2 separate regions of the Homo sapiens genome follow, and region 2 is linked to region 1. Evidence: promoter capture Hi-C in 16 types of primary human blood cells and fetal thymus (Javierre and others, 2016). All regions are on one chromosome and are shown on one strand. The core of a region is centred on a gene start or on the middle of the fragment in contact, and the rest is flanking DNA. Distances in the headings are between cores, read along the strand shown.

Region 1 (4,306 bases), core at 1-2,500:
TGCAGGGCAGGTCTTTTGGGCATCCTCACAGGTCACAGTTTCTGAGTAAGACGCTGCCACCATACTCAGGAGAAGGAGAGGGAGTGATGGAAACAGGGACATGGTCCTCACCTTGGTGTGAGAAAACTCAGGGAAGGTTAATCTCAGTTAATGAACACATATTTACCGAGCATGCCCTCTGTCCTACAATCTGGGTGCAGGCTATATAGAAATAGATGACCCATCCCTGGCCTCTAGCTGGGGATTTGGAAAAGTAAACATTCCTTGTGACACTGCGTGACTAGTACTTTAACAAAGGTAGGCACTATGATGAGCAGTGGGGATCCTAAGGAGGGGTTCATCTGTGCCTAGACACCTGGCGTTGCTGCTGGAAGACTATAAACATGCTTTCGGTGGCAGTGAGAACAAATGGGACCGTGCATTGCCAGCTGGCTTATGCCTGTTAGCTTAGGGAATGAGAATGAGTGGAAACCCAGGTGTCTGTAGGAGCTTCCTCTTTCTCTCCATGTCCTCTTCGGGTCCATCTGCCACCTGAATCCCATCTTTGTATCTGGGCAGCTGATTCCCCTCCAGGACCTGTTAACTATCATTTACTCATTGGCAGGCCCTGAGCTGAAAGCTGGTGATCCAAAGAGGAAGGTCTCAACCTCAGATCAACCTCAACCTTAGTCACCAACCCAGCCCAGAATTAACTGGAGTTTGCTTCCCCTTGGTGTTTTAGACAGGCTTGCCTGGGTAAGCATTTTCTCTGGAAATTTCTTACTACGTTGGCCCTGGCAGAGTGCTAAATACCTCTCTACTTTCTGGCAGGAATTCCCCATGTTCTGTGAGTCAAAAACCACTGGCAATTAGAAAACTTGCCTTGAATCCTCCTCCCATTTCTCAGTATTAACCTTTCATTTGTTCTTCAGAGCTTTCTTCCAGCTATTGCCCCCTAAGAAACCTCAGCAGCCTAGCCCCATAGGTCTAAGCCTCCAAGTTTCCCTTTGAAAACAAAGACAGTCTCCACTGCAGATGAACAGATAATGGAGGAAAGTCACAGATGCTCCAGCACAAGCAGAAAAAGAGACATCCTCAACCTGATTTCTGCTTTCCATCCCACTCCCCCCACCCCTAGAAAGCCTCCTCCATGCCTCCAGGGTCATGTCAGCTCCCCAAACCCTTGATCCGGAAACCCAGATTTATTCACCAGAAATGACTTACTGGTGTTTCTGCAGAGCAGGGACTCAGTGACAAGGACGCTGGCCCTCTAGCCTGGGGCTCTGGCAGATGCCTCAGAGTGAGGGAGGAGGCTGGGCTCAGCAATGTAGGGCCCAATCAACCTTGTGAACAAGGATATCCTGGGCCTGGCCTTCAACTCCAGATTAATAAACAGCTCTTCTCAGAACTATGAGAAATTTAGGAGCCTCCAATACAGTGCTCGGCAGCTGTCTGCTTTAATACAGCACAATTCCTCTTTCAATTGCCATCCATTTTGGCAAATCTCATTGCTGAACTACCACAGCTAGGTTCACCTAGTTAGTCCTGTTGACATCCTTGTTTCCAACAGAAAAACAAAGATACTCACAAATGCATACACATGCTCATGCACACCAACTATACACACAGACACGTGCATGCACGCACACACCCATCCATGAAACCACATAGACCTCTTGCTGCCATTAATGCATTAAGGCCATTCCTGCCTCAGACTCTTCATTTGATGTCTCCATGCCTGGACCCCTTACGGGCATCGCCAGCTAGCTCTTTCTCTTCTATTCAAATATTCCAATTTCAGAGAAATCAGTACCTTGATCACTTATTCTAAAATAGTCCTACCTAGCAGTCTCTATCCTCTTAGCCTGAATTATTTTCTCTCATGTTACTTACACTTTATGATATTATAGTCATTGACTTTACTTTTCCAGTTTTTCATTGTGGTAAAATAGACATAAAATTTACCATTTTGACCATTATTATTAAGCACACAACTCAGTAGCATTAAGTACATTCACACGGTTGTGCTATCATCACCACATCATGGGATGATTTTCATCATCCCAAACTGAAACTCTCAACTCATTAAACTAGAATTCTCCATTTACCCCTACCCACAGCCACTGGTAACTTCTGTTTTACTTTCTGTCTCTCTGAATTCATCTATCCTAGGTACCTCATATATGTGAAATCATACAATAGCCCCCTTGTATCTGGCTTATTTCACTTAGCACAATGTCTTCAAATTTCATCCTCATAACAAGAATTGTAAACTGTGTTAAAGACTTTGGGTTTCCTTCCAGGGGGCACTAGAGGGACTGCAGTAGTGGAGAGGTGATCACATTTGAATTTTGCAAGGCTTGTTCTGGCTATGATGTTGAGGGGAACAGGACTGGAGAAAAGCAGATCTAAAAGGAAGTGCTTGCCATGATCTAAGCAGCAGAAGACAGTGGCCTGGGTCAGGGTAATGGCAGCTAGATTAAGAAGGTAGGCACACTTGAGAAACAGGAGGTATTGATTGCACTTGAGAATTAGCTAGAATAGTGAGTGATAATAAGAAGTTTTCATGGGCACACACATTTATGACTTGACTATCTAGGAGCCACTCAACTGAGATAAGAAGCAAAAGAACAGCACTTGGCACTATAAGATCATGGGTATCGTGTGTGTTAATGGCTTGAACCATCTTGCTGTGGTTAATGGGGACAATCTAGAAGGGATGGAAGAATACTTTTACGAACATAGTTCATTTGATTCTCAACTACATTACTGATATGGCTTTCAGAAAAATGCCATGTAGCTTGGGGTGTTGGGGAGCCCATCCTGAGAAGTTCAGAGGCTGCGGGGCCATGTGGTGGGGGTACTATGGAGGCCTCCAAACACCAAAAGAAATGTGAGTAAGATGCATTTCCAGGTCCCTTCCAATTGAAGTCTTCTTGGCTTGTGGAGGGACTGGCTTCCTTACTTCCTGCTGACCTGTCTGCTGTGCCTGGAAAAATGTCCAGGATGGTACAGAGCCACATGCCTAAAGCCATCAGTGGATATCAGGAGATCCAGGGCCTAAAGAAGACAGGGCCTGAGAAGACTTGTTTCCCTTCTTATTCTTTAGCAGCCAGAGCTTCCCCCTGCTCCTGCTCCAGTGGCAGAAGGTGAGGTGAGGTAGTTGACTCCAGGTCACTGGCGGTGCTGGCTTTAATCACAGTGCTTGCTTTCATTGTTTACCTAGTCCAGAGGTCAGGAAACTGCTCTCCAGACCCTGAAATTTCCTAGAACTGGGTTCAGAGGGTGTGGGTATCTGGGGGAAAGTCAATCTAGCAATTGATCCGGAGATTGGAGTGTCACCCAGTTACATCCTGCTCTCCAGAAGGCCTTTCCCAAAAGGAGAGGCCACTCTCCACATGCCGCAGCCTGAATGTCTCTCTCCACACGAATGCCCACTCTGCACTCCACCCCATAGATAAGGCCACTGTGTGCATTTGTTCTGGACTTTAAAACCCTTCCCAGCCAGGCGTGGTGGCTCACTCCTGTAATCCCAGCACCTTGGGAGGCCGAGGCGGGCGGATCATGAGGTCAGGAGATTGAGACCATCCTGGCTAACACAGTGAAACCCCATCTCTACTAAAAAATACAAAAAAAAAAAAAACAACAAACTAGCCGGGCGTGGTGGCGGGTGCCTGTAATCCCAGCTACCCAGGAGGCTGAGGCAGGAGAATGGAGTGAGCCCGGGAGGCGGAGCTTGCAGTGAGCTGAGATTGCACCACTGCGCTCCAGCCTGGGCGACAGAGCCTCTCCGTCTAAAAAAAAAAAAAACTTTCCACTTTCCTAACACTGCTTCCATTCTGGCAGCGCCACAACAAATCCACCTCACCCCAAGAGGCTGCAGAGAAAACTGCCTCTCTGACCTGCAGGAGGACTGCCTGGTGCCCTACATCCCCTTTTTTGTAGACTAGGGTGAAATCCCAGCTCTCCCACTTCCCAACAGTGTGACCTTATTCAAGTTCCACTGCCTTCATGTCCTCAGTTTCCTCGTCTGGGAAAGAGGGCACCGCTGCCTTGGCTGTGGAGTGGTGTGTCCTTAACTGGTCCACATTCAGAGTGCATGGCACGTGGCTCACCATGACAGCCTGCTTAAGAAAGGCCTTCATTCCCTCCAGGGTGACTGTTCAAGAGTCTTCTCAGCTTGGGAAGCAGTGTTCTTGGGTGGCTCCATGTGAGAGGCATGGTTTGAGATTGGAAACCAGAAGGCTTGGTTTTGTCTCATGAATATGAGCTTAGATAGACCCCATATTCTGGCCGAACCTCAGTTTTACATCTTTCAAATCAGATT
Region 2 (4,248 bases), core at 1,480-3,979, 560 kb before region 1:
TAACTTATAAATAATACTAACGTAACACATCCTTGATATTTACAAATAACACTGCCTAGAAATCTTAAAAGGAAAACCAAACATACATTTAATACATCTACAAGAAATACCTTTTTAGAAAATAAAATGTATATGTTTCAAAATTTGATGAGCATTTACGATGTGGAATAAGCCTACTTTTTTCACAGTCTGGCAAATGGGAGAGTCCTCATTTACAGATCCCATCCAATATGTCAGCCATTCTCCTGGGTTATTAAGACACTGAGATGAATATACACCCTCCCCAAACTCTAGGATCCCCTACTCTACAAAGGAGTGTGAATACATAAGTATCCAACTTGCTGACACCCAAAAGTGCAACAGTAGCATAGAGGAAGTAAGGGTTCTGCTTGGAAGAAAAGAAAGTAATAAGATTTCAGATTACCCACCAGGATATAACTTGGGTGCACATCTCTCACTGTTCTCATTTAGCCCAAAATCCACAGCAGCATGAAAATATGCAAACAGAGAACAGTATGCTGGTGTCATTTAGATGCACAAACTTTGATATCACACATACAGTGACATCTAAGGAATCATCACCGCACTAACATTCAATTTCCTTACCTATAAGATGGAGGTCATAGATAAACACATCTCAGACTTTGGAGCGAGATTGAGAGTATGTATGTATAGCACTTTGTGTAGTAGCTAGCATGCAGTAAGTACAATTACTCTTGGAAATTATTTTTATTTTCTAAAGAAATAGTAGCTATGGCTTCACAAACAAACCATTTAAGGATTCTTTAATAGCCCTATGAGACTAGAGCATGAAGTTTGAAAGGAGTGGCTGTGAAGAAAGAGGCCAGATAAAGATTACACAGCGAAGTTCCATTAATGCCCCCCAAAGGAATTCCAACTTGATACAAATGTAATGAGGAAAGCCCAGCTAACATGACTATGTGCTTTGGAAAGTTAAATCTAGAGACAATAGGAAGAAGATATGGAGCAGGTAACCAATCAGGAGGCCTTTCACTGAGGGAACAGTTTCTGCTATGAAAGCAGTAGGCCGGTTTTATAATTTGTGGGTCATTTTGAATATTGTCACGGTTATTTATTATGTAACTTTAATATGCATTTTAAGAGTTTCTGCAATAATTCACATGATTTTTTATGTTAAAATAATGATAAAAGTTTTTTCAAAAAAAAAAAAAAATGCCAGCATGAAGATGCCATTTTGGAGAGATGTATTATTCTAAATACAAAGTCTATTTTGGGCCAGGCATGGTGGCTCATGCCTGTAATCCCTACACTTTGGGAGGTGGAGGCAGGCAGATCACCTGAGGTCAGGAGTTTGAGACCAGCCTGGCCAATGTGGTGAAACCCCATCTCTACTAAAATACAAAAATTAGCCGGGCATGGTGGTGGGCACCTGTAATCCCAGCTACTTGGGAGGCTGAGGCAGGTGAATTTCTTGAACCTGGAAGGTGGAGGTTGCAGTGAGTCAAGATCAGGCCATTGCACTCCAGCCTGGGCGACAAGAGCAAAACTCCATCTCAAAAAAAAAAAAAAAAAGTATATTTTGAAGCTGACTTGCTATAAGCATTCTATGCTATAAAGCGAGATATACAGGCATTTAGATAGTTAAAGCAACAAGAAAATAAAAGTATTTTCTTTTGTGCATCTCAGGTCAGTGTACTTTTCAATATCACCTCAATATTTTCTCTTTTCCCCATGGGAAGATGTCTGAATACACTTTGGTGGTATTCATACATTCATACATGTTTCAAAGTGAAACAATTTCCTTGTGAAAATTTCAAATCATGAATTTGGATGGATAACTTTAAAATATGAAAGGTGAAAGGAATGAAAATATATTAATATACATTTTTATAATAGTAATGTTAGAAACATAACTTTTGGTTTTGATCTCATTCAGAATATAACTGACAAGAGGTAGATGATAAGGTAGATATTTACTAGTTGTGCTCTAAAAGTGAAAATGTCATATCTAATTGAATATCTTAAGCATAGATTATGTTTCACATGAAGAACAAAACCACAAAGGCCTAACTTGAAGGCAAACATTGTACTTTTGTGCCCTCCAGTGGCCATCTGGAGAATATACTCATCCTCATAGAATTGTTCAAGAAACATAAAGTGGCTAAGGAGACAATGGCAAAGGAAACAAGCAAACTGTACACCCAGAGACCCTGAGGCTATTACTTTCTCATAAATTTACTGAAGTAAGAAGAGAGCTAGCAGACTTGGGAGATTCTTCAGACTGCTTCCAAGAATGCAAAGGAGCTATTGGTTTGGACTACAGATGGTTCTTTTGATCATTCTTGAATATACTCTTCTTAGACACTTCTTAAACAAGGATTGCCAAGCACAGCATGGAAGCTTAAATTTTCATTTCAATCAAAAAAATTATGCATGGAACACAAGTGACACTAAGCTTCTCACTCTGGGAGAGGTATCACTTCAGTCAACAGGCTCCTGGGCTGGGGATCTTTTGGGAAACCAGCAGATAGCTACCGGAATGCCAGGGAAATAATTGCACATGGATTTTGCAAGAGACTCAAAATCAAATCACACTGGCAGAGCAAAGAGTTTTGACAATAAGACTTTAATTGAATAGTCAGAGTTAGATGGAACATCCAAAATAGAAAAATACCTGTTTATTAAAATGGACATTACCTATTTTCTCATCTTTACCTTTTAGTATTAGCTTAGCCCCAGAATTAGATGCAGTTAATACAGCCAGGTCTGCAGAGCATTGTAGATAGATTTTGATTCCTATTTTAAATGTGGCTGGAATTTCTGATGCCATTTCTTGCATGGTCCTAGAGGGAATAGAGCCTTTGGTTTTTATACAGTCATAGGTTTTGGTGCGGTTTTTTAAGATCAGTTTGTTATCTTTTTCTGAGAATTAAATGGATCAAAATGTCTCTAAATTTTAAAAATAAGTTTTGTTTAAACCCAGTGACTGCTTAACTATTTGCATAATACTTCTGAAAACTTTTTAGTTTTTCACAAATGGAAGCTTTCTTTTACTAGGCAGACAATTCTGTTTAATAAGTGAGTTCAGCTCCTGCACCACCGTGAATTTAATAGCCTGGAGATCCTGTTTCACTTTCTGAGAGAACAGATCCTATAAATTGCATTCTATGTGCCATTCCACTTCCTGTCTGATGGTGATGCGGAAAAACAGCTGTTGTGTGGGAACTGTTCAGAGCTGTGTTTCTCAAACCACAGGTCATGGAAGGGTGGTTAAGTAGGCCCTGTTTCCCTTTCTTCCAAAATAGCACCCAAGGCTCTTCTGACCTTGCCTCCTTCCACCTCTTAGTTGTAAGCCTACTAAGGAGTAAGTTTATCCTACTTCCTTTTGTTGTGTTTATTTTTAATTGGGGAGGAATAAGTACATATCCTGGGAGAGGCTAGAGTTATCCTGAGAGATGTGCGGGGTAAATATACATATACACACACACGTACACATTTATATATCTATCTATCTATATATATATATACACATATACACACACACACACTTATATATGTATAAGTAGAGTTCTCTCTTTTTTAGATTAGTGTCAAATGAATCTCATAGTCTAGGAACTAAAGCAAACCACATCACTCTAATTTTAGTACACCCTACCGTCAAACAATATTTTCACCCTGTCTTCAAATGGTACATAGAGAGATTTAGATTTAATTATTCAATATGGAATAATAGAAACTACAAGCAAGCATTAACCCAGGTTTACAGTTACTCAAATAGCAAGGATTAAACAATATACAATGGGTTGACAAATGTGCTGTCTCCTACTGGATAGGAGACAATGGAAACAAGTTTCATTGGTGGCTTGGGCAACTGATGCAAATGTACTAGCTGGGAGATAAATCAGACCTCAGCCCTGTTGGTAGTATAGACATCATCACAAAGGATATTTTAATAATGACACTGTGGCTAGCCTTTCTTTTCCTTCCTCCGTTACTCTCTACTTATAATTTGCATAATAAATGAAACTCCTATTTTATCTCTCATTCCAATGGCTTCTCTTAGGAAATTAATGGTTTAGAAAAATAGCTTACAGCTGGGAGCCGTGGCTCACACCTGTAATCTCAGCACTTTGGGAGGCCGAGGCAGGTGGTTCACAAGGTCAGGAGTTCAAGACCAGCCTGACCAACATGGTGAAACCCTGTCTCTACTAAAAATACAAAAATTAGCTGGGCGTGGTGGCACACGTCTGTAATCCCAGCTACTCA

What was found. Contacts are between HindIII fragments. The CHiCAGO score rates a contact against its expected background, and 5 or more counts as called.
Region 2: a fragment that was not itself captured here is called in contact with the fragment with the promoter of MBL2 in region 1 in 2 of 17 cell types (fetal thymus and megakaryocytes); the score reaches 6.1 in fetal thymus.

Annotation. Positions count from the first base shown.
Region 1 is chr10:52,771,534-52,775,839 of GRCh38, forward strand. MBL2 (mannose binding lectin 2) reads right to left here and starts at 1,251. Exons shown (of 5, transcript NM_001378373.1): 1 at 1,204-1,251; 2 at 1-111. The coding sequence starts at 102. The HindIII fragment of the contact is 7,250 bases long and covers 1-4,306 here.
Region 2 is chr10:52,213,858-52,218,105 of GRCh38, forward strand. All of the region lies in intron 9 of PRKG1 (protein kinase cGMP-dependent 1), which reads left to right. The region is part of intron 1 of LOC124902425 (a long non-coding RNA gene); the gene reads right to left. Among named protein-coding and RNA genes, the nearest start is that of PRKG1-AS1, 98 kb to the right of the region's middle. The HindIII fragment of the contact is 588 bases long and covers 2,436-3,023 here.